Regions from separate parts of the Homo sapiens genome. Here regions 1 and 2 are each linked to region 3. The links are contacts of gene promoters, found by promoter capture Hi-C in human tissues and cell types (Jung and others, 2019). All regions are on one chromosome and are shown on one strand. Each heading gives the region's core, a stretch centred on a gene start or on the middle of the fragment in contact. The rest is flanking DNA. Distances are from core to core; before and after follow the strand shown. Region 1 overlaps SNX1 (sorting nexin 1). Region 2 overlaps SNX22 (sorting nexin 22). Region 3 holds the start of PIF1 (PIF1 5'-to-3' DNA helicase).

Region 1 (3,722 bases), core at 389-2,888, 720 kb before region 3:
CCTAGTAGTGGGGTTGCTGGATGCTATGGTAGTTACATTTTTAGTTCTTTTAGTAATCTCCATACTGTTTTCCATAATGGCTGTGCTACTTCACATTCCCACCCACAGTGTATGAGTGTTCCCCTTTCTCCATATCCTTGCCAGCATTTGTTGTTTTTTGTATTTTTAATAATGTCTTTTTTTATACATTGCTGGGTTTGGATTGCTATTATATATTCTTTTACATCTACGTTCATAAGATAAACCTGTAGTTTCTTTCTCATGAAAATTGTATGGTTTGGGGAATTAAGATTATATGGTAATTTCTTCTATTCTTTCGAGAATGTTTATACTATTGGAATGATCTGTTTCTTAAAAATTGGTGGTACCTATAAAACTGTTCAGGCTTGGTATTTTTGTTTATGCTTTATGGAAAGATTGTTAACTATAAACAGTTTATTTCTCTGAGTGGTTATAGAGTTTGGTAGTTTTATTAAAAAGCCATAAGAAAAATGATGGTTAATCTGGCTAATACTTTAATTCTCTGTTCTGTGAAACATGCATGGTGGTTGTTCCCAAAGATATAACACATCCTCATTAAGTTTCTTGATATTAGCCCTTCTCTGATCTTAATCAGACTTCTGAAAGTGAATCTTTATAACAGTATCTTTAAACAAAGGTGTATCACTTAGTTTGTTTAGTTACTAGTTTAGTCATTTATAGCTAATATTGGTAAAAATTCTAGTGTGTAGTGTTTTCTACAGGGATATTGCCTCAAACACTTGTTTTTGGAGTTAACATACATCAAGTGGTCACATCTGGTCAAATGATCAGAAGTTGAAATTCTACCTTGTGGTAAATATATTCTTGAAAAAAGTGATAGGTATATGCAAAGACTCATTTTAGTGCTCAGCTCAAATAGTAAAGTTTTACTTCGCATAAGTTTAGATTTCCCTGAAATACATAAACTCATTAATTTCTTGATCATTGTATTGTACTAGCAATTAACTTAGCTTTCAGAATTATGGAGGAAAAGCTAATAAAAGTAATTATAGAACACCAGTTTTGGAGTAAAGGGTTTTTTTTTTTTTTTTTTGGGACGGAGTCTCGCTGTGTCGCCCCAGCTGGAGTGCAGTGGCGCGATTTTGGCTCACTGCAAGCTCTGCCTCCCGGGTTCATGCCATTCTCCTGCCTCAGCCTCCCGAGTAGCTGGGACTACAGGCGCCCGCCACCACGCCCGGCTAATTTTTTTGTATTTCTAGTAGAGACAGGGTTTCACCGTGTTAGCCAGGATGGTCTCAATCTCCTGACCTTGTGATCCACCCTCCCCAGCCTCCCAAAGTGCTGGGATTACAGGCGTGAGCCACTGCGCCCGGCCCAGGGAGAAGACTTTTAAAGATGGCTAATAGGCCGGGCACTGTGGCTCATGTCTGTGATCCCAGCACTTTGGGAGGCCAAGGCAGGTAGATCACCTGAGGTTGGGAGTTCAAGACCAGCCTGGCCAACATAGTGAAACCCCATCTCTACTAAAAATACAAAATTTAGCTGGGTGTGACAACGCATGTCTGTAATCCCAGCTACTTGGGACGCTGAGACAGGAGAATCACTTGAACCCGGGAGGCAGAGGTTGCAGTGAGCTGAGATTGCGCCACTGCACTCCAGCCTGGGCGACAGAGCAAGACTTGATCTTAAAAAAAAAAAAAAAAAAAGATGGCTAATAATAACCTGACTTAAAATTTATTTAAAAGTAGGGTTTGGGGCCGGGCACGGTGGCTCACGCCTGTAATCCCAGCACTTTGGGAGGCTGAGGTGGGTGGATCACCTGAGGTCAGGAGTTCGAGACCAGCCTGGCTAACATGGCGAACCCCTGTCTCTACTAAAAATACAAAAATTAGCCAGGCGTGGTGGTGCGTGCCTGTAATCCCAGCTACTCAGGAGGCTGAGGCATGAGAATCGCTTGAACCCGCGAAGTGGAGGTTGCACCACTGCACTCCAGCCTGGGGGATACAGCGAGACTCTGTCTCAAAAAAAAAAAAAAATTAGGGGCTTATGAGAGAAACAATAAAGGTTGCCGTCAGACTTCTGGTTTCTGTAAGGGTTGCCAACCCATTGTTTACTTAGGTGGTAAGGCCACTCTGACAACTTGGCCATTTGTAGTTCATTAGTTTGGACTGGAGAAAAGAAAAAAAAATCTGATATCTCTTCCTTGGTCCTCAAGCTTCTCAGCACTCAAGTAACTTTTGACATAAATAAATCATGAGTAGTTGATAGTTACTAGAGCAAGTAGCCGTAAGTATCTCATCTCCAGGAAAAGCTGTTGCTCAACTTTTTCTGGCTTATTCTTTTGCTTCGTCACGTGGACAGCTGGAGCTTCATTCTGCTTTCAGAGCAGATTTGAACTGGGTTTGCTTTTTCAATTTAGAAGGTAATCCACCCATTAATACTGTGATTCTTCTGCGGTTTTCTGGGCCCTTTCTAAGTTTTGTTAGGTTGAGACCCAAAAAGTTTAGTTGGGAAATTAAACCAGAGAATTCAGTAGAATGTCTGAGGCTAAATCTGGGGTCTCATGAGGTCTCTAATGGCCTTGCACATGATTTTCCTTAACTAGCTCAGTGGTCAGCTTCATGCTATTTTCCCCATCCTTCCAGCTCTCCCTTTTCCATTTTCATTAGTCCCTCTACTCTGTATCTCAGAAGTTCTTTACCTTTTTTGTGCTGTGGGCCAATTGGCAGGCCCTGTAAAGCCTGTGGACACATCCCCAGAATAATGTTTTTAAATGTATGAAATAAAATACATTAAAATATGAAGGAAACCAATTATATTGAAATTCAGTTTTAATAAATTAAAATGATTTTACATTAATAACATACTTAAATAGAGATGAGCATAAATGAGACTTTGAGATCTATAAAAACCATAATCTCATATAAAAATATCTAATATCAGTTACAATCTCAGGTACTTCTATTATGGTTTGTTGCTTATCTTTATGATTAATGTATATGCCAAATTTCAGTTCAAGGTTAATGAAAATGAAATTATAATAATTTTATTCCCATCCAAGTTCATAGATTACCCCCTGAAGTATGTGGCTAATGGACCCCAAGATAAGAACCCCTAGTTTAACTCCTTAAGCTATGGAGTTAAACTCTAGTTTGTAGAGTTAGGTACACCCTATTCTGAAATCCAGTGGACATTGAATGTCCATTCTCCCAAGCACAAATACTTTTAGTGCATCTGTGCCAGTTTTGAAACGTGGTGGGAGAGGAGTCACTGTCTGCTGTAGGCTGAATAATGCCCCCCTTCCTTTTCCCAAAGAAGTCCACATCTTAATCCTGCAACCAGTGAGTATGTTAGGTTATGTGGCAAGGGGGAGTTAAGGTTGAAGATGGAATTAAGATTGCTAATCAGCTGACCTTAAGATATGGAAGTTATCCTGGATTATCTGGCTGGGACAGTGTAATCACAAGGATCCTTAAAAATGTAAGACAGGCTATGAAAGACGATATGGAAGAGACGCAAAGAGATGAAATGTTACTGGCTTTGAAGATGGAAGAAGTGGGCCGTGAGGCAAAGAACCCTAGAAGCCAGAAAGGGCAAGGAAACAGATTCTTTCCTAGAACCTCCAGAAAGGAACACAGCCCTACTGACACCTTGATTTTAGCCCAGCAAAACCCATTGGACTTTTTCAGAACTGTAAGATAATTTGCATTGTTTAAACTGTTAAATTTGTGATGATTTGT
Region 2 (3,846 bases), core at 1-2,500, 670 kb before region 3:
GGCCCGTAGTGCTTCAGTTTGAAGTTCTCATCGGGGAAGCGCTCACCGTAGATGCTCTTTCCTGGGAAAAAAGACAGAGCAGGTCAGGGGCGCTGGATTGCGCCAAACCAAGCAGACATTCGGGGCCAGGACTGAGGGGGCTTAACCTGTCCTCTGTGCCAGGCTAGGCTGGAGTGGACTACAAGGACATAAAAGCAGCGTCCTTCCTATCTTCTGGCCTCAGAGCCAAGCCATGCTGACTGAGGCCAAGTGGGGCATCAGGCCAGGCTGATGTGGTGAACAGCTCACAGAAGGATTACTTTGAGAAGATAGTTTTGTGGCTTTTAAATAAGGCGCATGTTATCAGCTCCCCTTAGCTATGGCCCAGGCCTGCCACGGAGGGACTTTGGTGGAGGGAAGTGCCGTGCAGGATGCAGGGGAGTCAACAGGGTCGGAACTCTCCAGAAAAGGAGGACTGCTGTGGCTGACCAGCCTGTTTTCCTATGAGCACAAAAGACACAGGCATAGCTGCAGAGGAGAAAGCAGCCAGAGATGTGTGGGGAGGGGCAGAAAAGAGGGGCTGCCCCTTGGATTCTGGAGAGTCAAAGCCTCTTAACAAGGAATGAACAGGAATAAAAGACAGCTGTGAGTGTGTGTGACGCGTCTGTCCACGTGGGGCTTGGGGATATGGTAAGGGCAATCCGGAGTGATCTCTATGCCATTTCAGAGATCCTAGTTCCAAAGCTGCTTCCACGAGGAACACCGAAACCCTTCTTTTTCCCTATCACCCCTTGGAGACTGACACTGTGCATGAGGCCCCAAGAAACTCAGCCAAAAATGGGGTCATTTTCATTTTGTTTTATCTAACACCTTTCAAACATATTTGCATGCAAAACTCTTTTTTCCTTCTCACTGCACCTACCTTCATCCTGTGGTTCCACAGAATGGAACTGAGCTGGGAAACTGTCCTAGACAGATGCCAACCAGGAAGATGTTTCTGATTGGGCAGCAGGTAGGATGACTGAAAACCAAGAATGACCAGACTCTGGCTGGTGGGGACAGGGTGCTTCTGCCTGTGCTCCACCTCTCACCCCCACGCTGGGGAGACTGGACTCTGCCACATGTGCAGTGAGACCTGGCTGGAGTGCTGGCTAAAAGCCTCCCCCATTTGAGCCAACTGTGGGATTTTGATTATAGTTGTTATCCAGAAAACCCCCAAATCTCCATCCTTAGCTCCAGCCACTCTCTCAAGATACAGGGGTTCCAAACTCAAATGGACATTTCTATTTAAACTCAACATACCTTGTCATCTTTCTCTCCAGACCTCAGTTATTCTTTTGACCCCTTTTCCTCTGCACGTGGCTCAGGTTGTCCCTACCCACTCCCCATGTACTTACTCTTTCTTTCCATTCCCACCACCACCGCTGCAGTAGGCGAGTGCTTAGGGTGCTCATAGTGTGAGCCAGAGACTGTTCCAAGCATCTTACATATTTAACAATCCACTCTATGAGGAGGAGCTAACTCCACTTCAAAGATGAAGAAACTGAGGCACAGAGAATAAAAGGAGCCCCAGCAGAGCAACAGCGGGGCTAGAGTTCAGACCAAGGTGGTCTGCTCTCGAATCTCTGCTCTCAGCCACCTCAGGATCAGGTCCAAATCTCCCTGCCCAGGGTCAGTGGCACCAATGCCCCCAGCAGCCTGCCTGCCCTAGCCTCCACATCCTGGATCTGCCACCACATGACTCCCCTGGCACCCCAAGTGAGGGGTCATCCTCTTACTCAGCTCTGTGGCCCTGACTCCCTGCAGGCCGAAGCCCAGGCTGCAGGACATCACCCACCTCTCTGCACTCCGGGTACAGATGTCCTCACCCCACCTTTGGCCAAGCTCCTGCCACAGAACAGCACCGGGCTCATGCCCTAACCCTGCCTCTTTTCTGCCCGTTCAAATTCTCCTCATTGAGGACCCCACTGAAATCTTTCCTCACATCCGCAAGGTCATTCCCCCGTTCCCTGGCCTGAGGGGATCCCTCTGCTTGTCAGCACTTCAACAATGGCTGACTTACTAAGCACTCACTGCATGCCAGGCACTTCACACTCCAGATCTAGCCCAATCCTCATGGCCCCACAACTCTCTCCACCCTCACTGTACAGAACAGGAAACTGAAGCTCCAAGGACTCACTTGCCTGAGGTCACAAAACAAGAAGGTGGCAGACACTGGATCGAGCCCAACTGCGTCTGACTCCACAAATACAGTTCTTTGGTCTCCTTTGTGAGCCTGAGTCCTAAACGCTGCATCATGGCTCACTTGTACATTTTCAGTTGTTGGAAGTAAAAGGGAGCCACTGCCCCATGGGTCTTCACATCCTCAACCCCCACCACAGAGCCCCATAGACACTCATCGAGGAGTGAGCTGTGTTCTAAGGGAGCAGCAGGCTGTACCTGAGCTCAGTGAGACTCATGCAGGCGTCCGGGGGTCTTTCTGTCCTATGTGTGCAAGTTAATGCCAAGGTGAGGGTCGGCCCTCACAGAGTGGTCTCTGGTGAAAGACTGTCAAGGAAAGTAACTGCTCCCACTCTTTTTTTTATTTTTTTGAGATGGAGTCTCGCTCTGTCGCCCAGGCTGGAGTGCAGTGGCGTGATTTCGGCTCACTGCAACCTCCGCCTCCCAGGTTCAAGCAATTCTCCTGCCTCAGCCTCCCAAGTAACTGGGATTATAGGCGCGTGCCACCACGCCCGGCTAATCTTTTGTATTTTTAGTAGAGATGGGGTTTCAACATGTTGGCCAGGCTGGTCTTGAACTCCTGGCCTCAAGTGATCCAGCCACCTTGGCCTTCCAAAGTGCTGGGATCACAGAGTCACCACGCCTGGCCCTCTCACTCTTGCTGGGGCTTCCAGGGTAGCCTGGACAGGCTTTGGGCATCTGACCTAGAATCGCGTACCCACATGTCTTCACTTTGCTTCCACACGCCTCTCTCCCCAATCCCCATTCTGAAGAGGTATCAGGAAAGGTCACCAGGCTATAGGCCTGGATCAGCAGGACGGTCACCTGGGAGAGATTCTCTTAGATCTACCATCAGGTCCACCCCATTATTCTCTCTCCTTTGTACTGGGTTCCCTCTTCAAAGAAGGGTGCCGCTGGTCTCAAAGTAGGTAAGTAATAAGTAGGCCTGCCTCTAGAGCTGGGGAAGAAAGAGGCCTGGTCTCCCCAGCAGAACCTGGCCCTCCCACTGTGGAGGCTACACTGACATACTCCTTGGCCCAGAGGACCTGTGGTTACCTCCTGTGCCATCTCCCCTGGTGAAGTCTCCGCCCTGGATCATGAAGTCCTTGATTACACGATGGAATTTGCTGTTTTTGTAGCCAAATCCTTTCTAGAAAAAGGGAAGAGAAGGTAAGGAGGTGGTATGGGGCAGCAGGAAGACATTACATTAAATAGGCCTCACAGGAACAAGTCCACAACTCCTGCTCGCAGAAGAGACACCACTGCTGACCACTTTCACTGTTCAGTGTGCTACTAAGTGAGCGGGCAGGCGCCACAGGACAGGCATGGTACACACAGATGTGGAAATCCCTCTGCCTCCATACAATTCCCAAGCTTTATACAATTCTACATCACATAATGCTTTTCCCCTCATTTCTTCCAATCATAAGAACAGATACAAGAAAACTGAGAAGAAAGGTCACCTGCTGGCTCAATGGAAAGTTAATATAAACTGAAATAGGGCACTGTTGTTTCCTTAAAACCCACTGCCCTCACCCTAGGTGAAGTCTCCCCAGGAAGCTCTGGACCCCTTACTCTTTTTTATCTCATTTTTTAAATTTTATTATTATTTTTTTGAGACAGAGTTTCTCTCTTGTCACCCAGGCT
Region 3 (3,939 bases), core at 1-2,500:
ACGTAATGGGTGCTATAGGGGACGTAATGGGTGCTATAAAGGACGTGACAGGGAGCAGGGTCAAGGCTACACAAGATCACGAGGACTGTCACTGGTAACACAAAGAGGTCACAAAGACGGAGAAAGGGCTTTGGGCTAACCGAAAATCCACCCTTAGAATATGCCCTGGGCCGGGCGCAGTGGCTCGCGCTTTAATCCCAGCACTTTGGGAGGCTAAAGTGGGCGGATCACCTGAAGTTAGGAGTTCTGAGACCAGCCTGGCCAACATGGTGAAACCTCGTCTCTACTAAAAATACAAAAATTAGCCGGGCGTGGTGGCGGGCGCTTGTAATTCCAGCACTTTGGGAGGCTGAAGAAGGAAGATCGCTTGAGCCCAGGAACTCGAGACCATCCTGGGCAACATAGCGACACCCTCTAATTAAAAAAAAAATACATACATATAAATACATACATATGCATACATTATATATATGTGTGTGTGTGTGTGTATATATATGTATATATATATATACACACACGCACCCTGCTACACAATTTCCATTTCTATATATCCAATTTCTATATATATATACACACAATATATATACAATTTCTATATATATACACACACACACACACACACATATACACACACACCGTGCTACACAACAATTTCCAGAGCGGCGGATGGGCACCGAGGATTAGGGAGCCTCAGGTGTCCTGCAAGGACCTCACTAGAACAGGGGTCCCTGCGCAGAAAGAATCCTCCTTCCCCGAGACCCAGGGCGAGCACATGAATCCTCAGAGTACTCTCCCCAGGAAGCAGGAGAATCGCCCGTGGGGAGATGCAAAGAGGGCTGCCGTGTAATAAGCGACTTCTGCCTTGTAGGTACATTCACTGGCTTATATGCAGCGGGCAGGTCTCACTCTTCCCCGTGTACAGACGTGGAAACAGGCTAAGAGAGGGAAACTCACTTGCCCTTCATAAGCCACAGCGGCTAGTAGTCAAAGTCAGTGTGATTCCCATGCCCTCGCGCTTCCCACCACCAAGGTGGGGACGAGGTGGAAAATATTCGGCTAGGGAAATCGCGGGGGACCCTGGGACCCTAGAAGCCGTGCTCCCTCAGGCTGACCCATTTGTTTGCACCCTCCCGCCGGAAACCCCTAGATAAATCAGGCTCTTTGCTCCCCACCTCTGGGTTCGGGCAGACACTCACTTGTGCCGACACTCAGATGAACAAGCAGATCGTAGCCGGCCTGTGGCTAAGCTCCGAAACTAGAAATTTTTCAAATGCTAGAGGCAGAAAATCACCCAATCACCGACTGGATCTTTAAATTCTCCAGCCACTCAGAGGTAGGGGCGTAACAATGGGCGTGTCTTTCTTTGCGTCTCTACTCCAGGAGCTTGGGCTGTACCAATTGCCTGCTAGAGGAAGGAGGTTTATGGTGGTGGCTGAGCATACCAAATCCAGTGGACGGCTGGGCGTGGTGGGAGGAGGCCGCCGCTGCGGCAGCCACCCGGCGGCGCGTGGTGTCGGGTCTGAAAACCCTACGCGACTCCGAAGATTTATTTTCAGAACCATCCTTCCAGCACACTCCCTCTCCCCTCTAGCCCGCACACAGAGGCTGGGCTTAGCCTTGGGGAAGATCTGCCTTTGGACTCTCACACCCCTGTTTACACTCACAGTACCATTGTCCAGTTCTGGGCAGACCACCCCAAGGCCTGCCCAATCCCTCCCCCGCCCCCAACTCTACATCCTTCTCTGCCTTTGTAAGGGACTTTACGCTTTGGCTCTCTCACCCACCTGAGGCCCATGAGTGAGAAACTCTGAGACCTGTGCCACGTGCCAGAGGGTACAGCGGAAGCGAGTAGAGTCTCTGTCTTCAGGGAAATTGTATCCCTCTTCTTGCACAGGATGCTGAAAGAATTTACTTTTAATCATCTTTATTATCTCATTGAAGCTTGGAATTACATAGCTGGAAAGGATCTTACAGGTGAGTCTGGCTACCTCATTTTACAGATAATGATAACTACCATGGATTAAATTGCCCTTTCCTTTCCTTTTTCCTTCTTAGGGCTCACTCTGTCGCCCAGGCTGTAGTGGAGTGCAGTGGCACAATCTCTGCTCACTGCAACCTCTGCCGTGGCGCGATCGTGGCTCACTGCAACCTCCGCCTCCTGGGCTCTGGTGATCCTCCCGCCTCAGCCCCCCAGGTAGCTGGAACTACAGATGCACACCCAGCTAATTTATATATATATATATATATATATATATATATATATATATATACACACACACACACATATATACACACACATATATATACACACACATATATATATACACACACATATATATATATACACACACATATATATATATAATTTTTTTTTCGTATAGACGGGATGTCACCATGTTTCCCAGGCTTGTCTCGAACTCCGGAGGTCAAACGATCCACCCACCGTGGCCTCCCGAAGTCCTAGGATTACAGGCATGAGCCCGGACCTTATTTTTCAAATGAGAAAAAAGCAAGGCTTCCAGAGATTTTACTGAAGGTCACATAGCTGATATGGAGAGCAAAACCAAACATTGAACCCAGATTACCTGCTCGCTTAATCACTCCATGGGGCTTAGCTACTACACCACACTGCTCCCAGTCTGTTAGCGGTAGAGGGTGATGACTGAAAGTTGTCCAGGTTCTTGGCGTTTTGAACAAAGAATTGGACAAAATGCCCATCAAAGCAAAGAAAGAATGAAGCAACAAAAGAACAAAAGCAGGAATTTTTTGAAAACGAAAGTACGGCTAGGCGCGGTGGCTCACGCCTGTAATCCCAGCACTTTGGGAGGCCGAGGTGGGGGGATCACTTGAGGTCAGCAGTTCCAGACCACCCTGACCAACATGGTGAAACCCTGTCTCTACTAAAAATACAAAAATTGCCGGGTGTCGTCGTGGACATCTGTAATCCCAGCTGCTTGGGAGGCTGAGGCATGAGAATCACTTGAATCCAGGAGGCAGAAGATACAGTGAGCCTGGATCGTGCCGCTGCACTCCAGCCTGAGCGACAGAACGAGAACTTGTCTCAAAACAAACAACAACAACAAAAAACAAAAACGAAAGTACACTCCACAGTGTGGGAGGGGACCCGAGATACAGAATTTTCTTGGGTTCAAATACCCCCTAGAAGTTTCCCATTGGGAACTTTACGCTTACTTCATGTAACTGAAGTGGTAGCGATAATCAGTCTGATTGGTTGCAGACAGCAACCATTCAGCCACCATTCAGAGGCTGGAGTGAAGTTACAAAGTTGCAAACGAAGACTGGACCCACACTCCTATGATTTGTTGCAGACAGCCAATCTCCCATCTGCCAATCTCCCATCTGCCATGCGGGAAACGTCAAAGGGAGTAGCCTTTGGTCCTTTTGTTCTTGTCCTTACTTAGGAGTGGAAAGTTAGAGTTTTCCTTTTTTTTTTTTTTTTTTTTTTTTTTTTTTGGGAGACAGCGTCTGGCTCTGTGCTCTGTTGCCCAGGCCGGAGTGCAGTGGCAGGATCTCGGCTCACTGCAACTTCTGCCTCCTGGGTTCAAGCGATTCTTCTGCCTCAGCTTCCCAAGTAGCTGGGACTACAGGTGCGTGCCACCATGCCCATTTAATTTTTGTATATTTGGTAGAGATGGGGTTTCACCATATTGGCCAGGCTGGTCTCGAACTCCTGACTTCGTGATCCGCCTACCTCGGCCTCCCAAAGTGCTGAGATTACAGGCGTGAGCCACCATGCCCGGCCAGGGTTTTCTTTTTTCTTCTTCTTCTTCTTCTTATTTTTTTGAGGTGGAGTCTCTATTTGTTGCCAGGCTGGAGTGCAGAGGCGCTATCTTGGCTCACTGCAACCTCTGCCTCCCCCATTCAAGCGATTCTCCTGCCTTAGCCTCCCAAGTAGCTAGGACTACAGGTGCATGCCAC

The links. Contacts are between HindIII fragments. The study calls those that stand out against the background at their distance.
Region 1: a fragment that was not itself captured here is called in contact with the fragment with the promoter of PIF1 in region 3 in 1 of the 25 tissues and cell types used here (hippocampus).
Region 2: a contact is called between a fragment that was not itself captured here and the fragment with the promoter of PIF1 in region 3, in 1 of the 25 tissues and cell types used here (neural progenitor cells).

The regions. Positions count from the first base shown.
Region 1 is chr15:64,103,216-64,106,937 of GRCh38, forward strand. The region is part of intron 1 of SNX1 (sorting nexin 1); the gene reads left to right. Among named protein-coding and RNA genes, the nearest start is that of SNX1, 9.1 kb to the left of the region's middle. RefSeq lists a silencer at 1,975-2,269. The HindIII fragment of the contact is 7,036 bases long and covers 1-3,722 here.
Region 2 is chr15:64,156,849-64,160,694 of GRCh38, forward strand. SNX22 (sorting nexin 22) reads left to right here. Exons shown (of 7, transcript NM_024798.3): 7 at 1-633. PPIB (peptidylprolyl isomerase B) reads right to left here. Exons shown (of 5, transcript NM_000942.5): 3 at 3,256-3,349; 4 at 1-61. Among named protein-coding and RNA genes, the nearest start is that of PPIB, 4.2 kb to the right of the region's middle. The HindIII fragment of the contact is 7,647 bases long and covers 1-3,846 here.
Region 3 is chr15:64,824,397-64,828,335 of GRCh38, forward strand. PIF1 (PIF1 5'-to-3' DNA helicase) reads right to left here and starts at 1,251. Exons shown (of 13, transcript NM_001286496.2): 1 at 1,173-1,251. RefSeq lists enhancers at 1-194, 1,384-1,513. The HindIII fragment of the contact is 20,575 bases long and covers 1-3,939 here.